Linked DNA regions of Homo sapiens: region 1 is linked to region 2. Evidence: promoter capture Hi-C in 16 types of primary human blood cells and fetal thymus (Javierre and others, 2016). All regions are on one chromosome and are shown on one strand. Each heading gives the region's core, a stretch centred on a gene start or on the middle of the fragment in contact. The rest is flanking DNA. Distances are from core to core; before and after follow the strand shown. Region 1 has its middle 24 kb from the start of ZBED1. Region 2 holds the start of AKAP17A (A-kinase anchoring protein 17A).

Evidence for each region. The method cuts DNA at HindIII sites, captures the fragments that hold promoters and counts their contacts. A CHiCAGO score of 5 or more calls a contact.
Region 1: a fragment that was not itself captured here is called in contact with the fragment with the promoter of AKAP17A in region 2 in 2 of 17 cell types (naive B cells and total B cells); the score reaches 7.2 in naive B cells.

What each region holds. Positions count from the first base shown.
Region 1 is chrX:2,522,390-2,526,719 of GRCh38, reverse strand. No RefSeq gene overlaps it. Among named protein-coding and RNA genes, the nearest start is that of ZBED1, 24 kb to the right of the region's middle. The HindIII fragment of the contact is 8,308 bases long and covers 1-4,330 here.
Region 2 is chrX:1,589,060-1,593,461 of GRCh38, reverse strand. AKAP17A (A-kinase anchoring protein 17A) reads right to left here and starts at 1,858. Exons shown (of 5, transcript NM_005088.3): 1 at 1,693-1,858; 2 at 1-18. The HindIII fragment of the contact is 17,990 bases long and covers 753-4,402 here.

The sequences.
Region 1 (4,330 bases), core at 386-2,885, 930 kb before region 2:
CATGAAAAGAGGTTTAATGGACTCGCAGTTCCACGTGACGGGGAGGCCTCACAGTCATGGTGGAAGGCGAAAGGCACATCTTACATGGTGGAGGCAAGAGAAAATGAGAGCCAAGTGAAGGGGGTTTCCCCTTATAAAACCATCAGTTCTCTTGAGACTCATTCACTACCACAAGAGCAGTATCGGGGAAACCGCCCTCATGATTCAGTTATCTCCCACCTGGTCCCTCCCACACCACGTGGGAAATACGGGAGCTACAATTCAGATGAGATTTGGGTGGGGACAGTCAAACCATATCACCAACATTCTTCCGTGCCCTTAAATTCCAGAGGATTCCTCCAATATGTGTCTATTTTTCCCAAGTCAAGTCTAAACACACTACCTCTAAGGCAAACCTTCACCTAACTAGGCTTAACTCAACAGCTTAACTTTGTTGACATATGTATTTATGGATTTCTAGAAAAAAATTTTTAAAGGAATTTTGTTGTCGTTGTGGTAAAATAACACTATGGAAGGTAACCCAGGCATGGATATGTGATGAAATATAAGAAAAAAATAACTCTATCACCCAGGCTGGGTGCAGTGGCTCATGCCTATAACCCCAGTGCTTTGGGAGGCCAAGGTGGGAAGATTGCTTGAGCCCAGGAGTTCAAGACCAGCCTGGGCAACATAGTGAGAACCCCCAGCTCTACAAAAAATAAAAAAATTTAGCTGAGTATGGTGAGTGCTTGTCTATAGTTCCAGCCACTCAGGAGGCCGAGATGGAAAGACAAACTGACCCCAGGGGTTTGAGGCTGCAGTAAGGTGTGAGTGTGCCACTGCACTCCAGCCTGGGTGATAGAGCAAGACCCTGTCGAGAAGGAAGGAAGGGAGGGAGGGAGGGAAGAAAGAAGGAAAGAGAGGGTGAGAGAGAGAGAGGAAGGGAGGAAGAGAGTGAGGAAAAAGGAAAGGGGAGGAGAGGAGAGGAAATGGGAGGGAAGCGAAGACTAACCTACAATGTCTGGGGGAATAACAGACACACTGTGTGTAAGATGCCAATAAAAGTGCTAAATACCACATTTTTCATGGGAAAATAATTATTAGAGTAATTCCACCAATTTTAAAGTGAAGCGTTGACATGTATCGCACATCACAAAAATCACATTTAGTATTTATTGAACACTTACTGCATACAATCATTATGGTTGATATTTCACAGAATATCACTTACGTAATTTCAAAAACCTCACGTTTACAATGTTATCTCCGTGTCAGGGAGGATGACACAGGACCCAAGAGGATCAAAAATATGCAGATTCCCCAGAAACTCATGCTGGAAAGATTGCATTTTTATTATGATGATTGTATTCATTTCTTTTAAATAATGATATTTGAATGCAGTGATATTTTAAACACTGGGTGATCTGTGATGCTTCTCCTATAAACTTGTTTCACAGAAAACCAGCTTACCCAGGTATAGGCTCAGTTTTTAGAGTATTGCAGTCAGCACAGTTTCTGAAGACAGAATCAATCTGGGACACTTCTGCATTGAATAAAAGATGAACTGACATGTCGCCTCTGCTATCAGAGTCTCCTTGGGCGAAATAGTGAATCAGGGCATGTTGAACGAACATAGGTCTTTTGGGGCTCTGTAATGCTGCCTGCTGCTATAATATTTACAGATTCTCATGCATAGAGTTAGAAGAGATTGAGGAGATCGTTGGAGGGTTTTTGTTTGTTTGTTTTTTGTTTTTGTTTTTGTTTTGACACAGAGTCTTGCTTTGTCTCTAGGCTGGAGTACAACGGCACGATCTCAGCTGACTACAATCTCCACCTCCGGATTCAAGCGATTCTCCTGCCTCAGCCTCCCGAGTAGCTGGGACTACAGGTACACACCACCACACATGGCTAATTTTTGTATTTTTAGTAGAGATGGGGTTTCACCTTGTTGGCCAGGCTGGTCTCAAACTCCTGACCTCAGGTGATCCACCTGCCTCAGCCTCCCAAAGTGCTGGGATTACAGGGCATGAACCACTGTGCCCGGCCCTTTGAGGGGTTTTTAATCTGTAGTTTATTGAGAGGAACTTGAATCTTAATCTTGATTCTTTAACAGAGTGCAATTTGACATTTAATGTCGATTTAAGTTACATTTTTTGTTTCAGAATGATTTCAGATTTGCAGAAAAGTTTCAAACATACCACAAGGAGCTCTTTTATACCCCCGTCATAAACATCTTCAATTAGTACGGTGCATTTGTGGCAATTAACCAACCACTCTTGATACATTACTATTAACCAGCCCATACCCTATTCAGATTTCTTTAGTTTTTTTCTAATGTTTAGGATCCCATCCAGGGTCTGTCAGTCAAGAAAATTAGAAGACAATTGTCAATCATTTTAGGAAGTTTATTTGCCAAAGTTAAGGATGCGCACCTGTGACACAGCCTCATGGGGTCCTGATGACATGTGCCCTAGGTGGTCGGGGCACAGCTTGGTTTTATACATTTTAGGCACACATGAGCCATCAATCAATATATGTAAGAAGTCCATTGGTTCCTTCCAGAAAGGCGGGGACAACTGGAAGCAGAGAGGGAGCTTCCAGGTCACAGGTAGGTGGGAAACATATGGTTGCTTCTTTTGAGTTTCTGATTAGCCTCTCCAAAGGAGGCAATTAGAATATGCGTCTATCTCAGTAAGCAGAGGGGTGACCTTGAATAAAATGAGAGGCCGATTTGCCCTGGGCACTTCCCAGCTTGTCGGGGCCCGGGTTAGTTTCCTTTCACAGGCCCCACAGTTCCACAGGGTGTTTAGTTATTACTTCTACCTGGGTTCCCTCTTGGCTGGGACAGTTTTCCAGACGTTTCTTGATTCAGATGAATGACCTGGACAGCTTTGAAAAGCACTGGGCAAGCCTTTTGACGGAAGTCCTTTTATTGGGATTTTTCTCATGTTTTCTTTCTTTTTCTTTGAGATGGAGTCTCACTCTGTCGCCTAGGTTGGAGTGCAGTGGCGCAGTCTCGGCTGACTGCAACCTCTGCCTCCCGCGTTCACGCCATTCTCCTGCCTCAGCCTCCTGAGTAGCTGGGACTACAGGTGCCCGCCACCATGCCCACAGCTGATTTTTTTAATTTTAATTTTTTAATTATTACAGGAGTGAGCCACCGCCCCTGGCCTTTTCTGATGTTTTCTTCATGATTAGATGGGGTTTGGGGGCCGGGCGTGGGGGCTGACCCTTATAATCCCAGCACTTTGGGAGGCCGAGGCGGGCAGATCACGAAGTCAGGAGATCGAGACCAGTCTGACAAACATGGTGAAACCCCATCTGTACTAAAAATACAAAAATTAGCCAGGTATGGTGGTGCCCACCTGTAATCCCAGCTACTCGGGAGGCTGAGGCAGGACAATCGCTTGAACACAGGAGGCAGAGGTTGCAGTGAGCCGAGATCATGCCACTGCACTCCAGCCTGGGCGACAGAGTGAGACTCCATCTCAAAAAAAAAAAAAAAAAAAAAAAAAGATGCGGGTTGTGGGTTTTTTGGGGGAACGACCACAAGTTGGACAGGCCCTTCTCGTCATATCCTAACAAGGGTACACACTCTCACAACCACAAGACTTCTCACAGTGCATGTTGACCTCAGTTATCTGGTCGAGATGGTGTTTGTCAGCTTTCTTCACTAAAAAATTATCCTTCCCCCGGCCTCTTTCCCATGCTGTACATTTTAGGAGAAAATCATTATGTCCTACACACACTTAAGAAACGCGTCAGTAGATTTTTGAAAACGAAACACTTCTAAGTGATTTAATTTCCTTATTGAAACAGTGGATAATAGGTTTCTGGTGTTATTACGGTGGAGAAAATATCCAATATTGAGTATGAGAAGGCTTAACAATGAGCAAACTTCTGTGTAATAATAATAATCGCATTTTGTGGGGTTTTTTGTTTTCTTTTGTTTTGTTTTAGCTTTTGTTTTTGAGATGCAGTCTTGCTTTGTTGCCCAGGCTGGAGGGCAGTGGTATGATTTCAGCTCACTGCAACCTCCGTGTCCTGGGTTCAAGCGATTCTCCTGCCTCAGCCTACCAAGTAGCTGGGACTACAAGTGCACGCCACCATGCCCGGCTAATTTTGGTATTTTTAGTAGAGACAGGGTCTCACCATATTGGCTAGGCTGCTCTTGAACCTTGGCCTCAAGTGATCCCCCCACCTTGGCCTCCCAGAGTGTTGGGATTACAGGTGTGAGCCACTGCGCCCGGCACATTTTGTTTTTAATAGTAAAATAATCACAAGTGTAATTCGACCAATTTTTAAAGTGAAGCATTGAAATGTATCGCACATCACAAAAATCACATTTAGT
Region 2 (4,402 bases), core at 609-3,108:
GCCTCCGGGACCTTGGGCCTGAAACATAAGACGCAGACAGTCAGCACCAGCACCCCCCACCTCCCCCGCCAATGAGGAGGGGCCAAGCCAGCAGGCACTTTCTGGACCCGGAGAAGAGAAACAGCAGTGTCTCTCTGCCGTGTCAGAGACCGGTTTCCACTTTGTTAACAGCCATCTCAACGGAGTTCTTTACTTTTTGAAATCATTAAGAGTACACCAAAGGGGAAAGAGCCGAGCTGATAAAGAACAGGTTAGTGTCAAAGCCTCGGTCAGCACTGCCCGACACCCTACATCCAGCAGCCAGCAGCTCCCAAGGCCTGCAGAATAGGAAGCTGAGCACGACCAGGCCCCTCACACAGGTCAAGTAGGAACGGGGACGCTACAAACGCCTAGCTCCACGGGAAGGGGCAGAGAGACACTGGGGAAGGGAAGGGGCCAGGGAGAGCACAGCTGCAGGCATCTGGAAAGGTTTTGTGGAGGGGGCGGCGGCCCTGTACTTGCCCTGATAAAACAGGAAGTCTCGGGCTGCAACAACAATCCAGAACCATGAACCCTAGTAATCTCCACGAAGGCCAAACGTATCCCAGCTTTAACCCACTCAAAGCCAAAAAGTACAACGAACTTTCCACAAGTTAGGGGCCGGAGTCCCCCGTCTGCGCCTTCTTTCTCCGCCCACCTTCATTAACCCACCTCTTCCCTGCTGAGCTGACGGGCAGCCACTTCCTGACGGCCAAGTCCAAGTAGAGGAAGCTTCACTCGCAGAAACCCAACCATCTCAGGTGACCGCCTCCGGCCCGGCCGCCCACCCCATCAACCTGGAGGCTTCCTGCCAGGCCCAGGAGACGGCCTCCTCGCCCAAGCCCGAGGTGGGAGGTGCGAAAGAAGGGAGGGAGGGTGGAGAAGCGACCAGAAAAGGTCAGTGGGGCACCAGGGAGGGGCTCCAGTCTGGACAGAGACCAGTGAACCCTCCCCCAGAACCCAAGCGGCCCCAGCAACTTCACCACCGAGGAACCCTCCCCACTCTGGCCTCCAGCGCCCTCCGACCACCCCGGTACACCTGGCTGCCCAATCCCCAGTACGCGGCATTGCCCCTGGTATTCCCACCTACCGCAGCCCCCCAGCATGGCCTCAGGCTGCCGCTGGCACCCCTGGCAGGGCCCCACACATTCTCAGGCCCTTGGCCACTCGGTACCCTCAGCTCCTCAGTTCCCCGCTCCCCACCACCCTCCTGGATGAGCCCCAATACCCCAACCTACACAGCACCGCCCCAGCCTCCGAAAACCCCGGACAGCCCCTTGCTTCCCACTGTAGACCTAGGAGCGACCGCAGCGCCACGTCCCCTAGTCCCAGGCCTCCTAGTCTCCCGCCCATCCGATCCCCCGAGCTCCCAGCCCTCCGACACCGCTCCAGGCCTCAGCTCCTTCGGTGCAGTCCCAGGAACCGCTCCAGCCCCTACCCCTACTTCCAGGGACCCCCGGACCCCGACCGCAGACCTCCCCAGCCCCCGATTCCCCCGTACAGTTTCAGGCGCTCCCAGCCCCCCGGTGGCACCCCACGCCCCCCAACCCCAGCCCCGTCACCTCCGAGGCCCCTAGGCGCCGCCTCCCAAGCCCCGGCCCCCCGGGCCCGGCCCTAGGAGCGAAGCGTTCGCCGGCTGCAGCCAGGCCCGGGAGGCACGGGGGCGGCACTCACCTGCGCGGGGCTCCGCCTGCGTCCCAGGCCGCCGCCGCCGCTGGCCCAAGCTCCCGCCGTCCCTCGACGATCCCCGGACAGGCGCGGCCTCACCGCCGGGAGCCGCCACCGTCCCCCGGAGGCGCCTCCGACGCCGCCACCGCCGTCGCCGCCCGCCCTCTATGACGCATTTCCACTTCCGGCGCGCGGGCTCGCGGAAGAGGCCGCGCGGCAGCACCGGGTTTCTCCTTCTTGCCCTGGCTCCGCCCCCGGGAGGAGGGACTTCCGGGAGCCCGACCTTTTGCACTGCGCGTGCGCGAGTCCGCCCCGCCCCCATGGTGCCACCTGCCTGCGGGTAACCAGGGGAGGTACTTGGGCCAGGGTCTGTGGTCATAGCCCTTAAGCCAAACAGGAGGGGGGCCGGTGTGGGGTCTAAATTCCAATTGTAGAGTCAAATATATATAACAAAATTCTAAAATGTAATAGGATCCTATAACGGGATTCTATACTATACTTGCAAATTATGGGTAATATACTTGAATAATATAATTTATGTATAAATTAGATATCATATTCTATGACGTAATTATAGAATTACATATAAATTGCTAGTTAATTAACTATTAATTGAATGGTTAATAATTATTAATTGTATATTAATAATTATTAACGCATACCATTACATAATGTAATTATGAAATAATAAATGATAACTTACAATGGTATTATGAAATTAATAATAATTTATATTGCAATTATGAAATAAATGATCATTTCTAATTATAAGATAATTTATAATGTAATTATGAAATAAATATAATGTAATTTAAAAATAAATGATAATCTAATGTAATTATGAAGCAAATGCTATTGTATAATATAATCATAATTTATAATGTAATTTTGGAATAATAAATGATAATCTATAGTGTAATTATGAAATAAATGAAAATATATAATGTAATTCTGAAATGATCATTTATAATGTAATTATGAAATAATAAATGACAATTTATAATGTGATTACAAAATAATAAATGAGGCCAGGTGCGGTGGCTCACGTCTGTAATGCCAGCACTTTGGAGGGCCAAGGCGGGCAGATCACAAGGTCAGGAGTTCAAGACCAGCCTGGGGCCGGGCCCGGTGGCTCATGCCTGTAATCCCAGCACTTTGGGAGGCCGAGATGTGCGGATGATGAGGTCAGGAGATCGAGACCATCCTGGCTAACACGATGAAACCCCGTCTTTACTAAAATACAAAAAATAATCAGCCGGGCGTGGTGGTGGGCACCTGTAGTCCCAGCTACCAGCTACTCGGGAGGCTGTGGCAGGAGAATGGCGTGAACCTGGGAGGTGGGGCTTGCAGTGAGACCGTGCCACTGCACTCCAGCCTGGTTGACAGAGCGAGACTCCATGTCAAAACAAAACAAAAAAAAGACCAGCCTGGCCAGCATGGTGAAACCCCGTCTCTACTAAAAAGACAAAAAACTAGCCGGGTGTGGAGGTGGTTGCCTATAGTCCCAGCTACTCAGGAGGCTGAGGCAGGCCCGAGAATCACTTGAACCCAGGAGGCAGAGGTTGCAGTGAGCGAAGATGGCGCCACTGCACTCCATCCTGGGCAACAGAGCGAGACTCTGTCTCCAATAAATAAATAAATAAGTAATGATAATTTATAATGCATTATTCATTTTTTATTATAATTTATTGTTTATTAAGTATGCCATGCTCTATGTGAGAGGTACGTGCTTCTGACGTCCCAAATATGTCACAAGTCCCCAAACTGGATATCCAGGGTCAGATAATCAGAACAGAAATCTTGCATTGCTCAACATCAGCTATCAACAAAGGAGAAAGCCAACACACCAGGGGCCTGAGGAAGACGGAACATTCTGTGAACCCAGGCAGGCTTCAGAGGGGCCGGGCTGTGTAAGAGGGTTGCTATGCCTTCCATGTTTCTGTCCTTCCAAAACTCAAGTTCAAACTCAGTTCCCACTGCAAGAGTATTAGAGGTGGTGCTTTTAGGAGGTGGTTAGGTCATGAGTGGGATTTGTGCTCTTAGAAGACAGGCCCCAGAGAGCTCTCTCACCCCTTCCACCATGTGAGGACACAGCCAGAAGGAACCACCTGTGAACCAGCAAGCGGGTCCTCACTAGACACTGAACCTCCCACTCATTGATCTTGGACTCTCAGCCTCCAGAACCGTGAGACATAAAAGTCTGTGATTTAGGCCGGGTACAGTGGCTCATGCCTGTAATCCCAGCACTTTGGGAAGCCGAGGCGGGTGGATCACCTGAGGTCAGGAGTTTGAGACAATTGTGGCCAACATGGTGAAACCCTGTCTTTACTAAAAATACAAAAATTAGCTGGGCGTGGTGGTGCGCACCTGTAATCCCAGCTATTCAGGAGGCTGAGGCAGGAGAATTGCTTGAACCCGGGAGGTGGAGGTCGCAATGAGCCAAGATTGCGCCATTGCACTCCAGCCTGGATGACAAGAGGAAGACTCCATCTCAAAAGAAGGGGAGGGGAGGGGAAGGGAGGGGAATGGAGGGGAAGGGAGGGGAAGGGAGAGGAGGGGAGGGGAAGGGAGGGGAATGGAGGGGAAGGGAGGGGAATGGAGGGGAAGGGAGGGGAAGGGAGAGGAGGGGAGGGGAAGGGAGAGGAGGGGAGGGGAAGGGAAAGGAGGGGAGGGGAGGGGAAGGGAGGGGAGGGGAAGGGAGGGGAGGGGAGGAGGG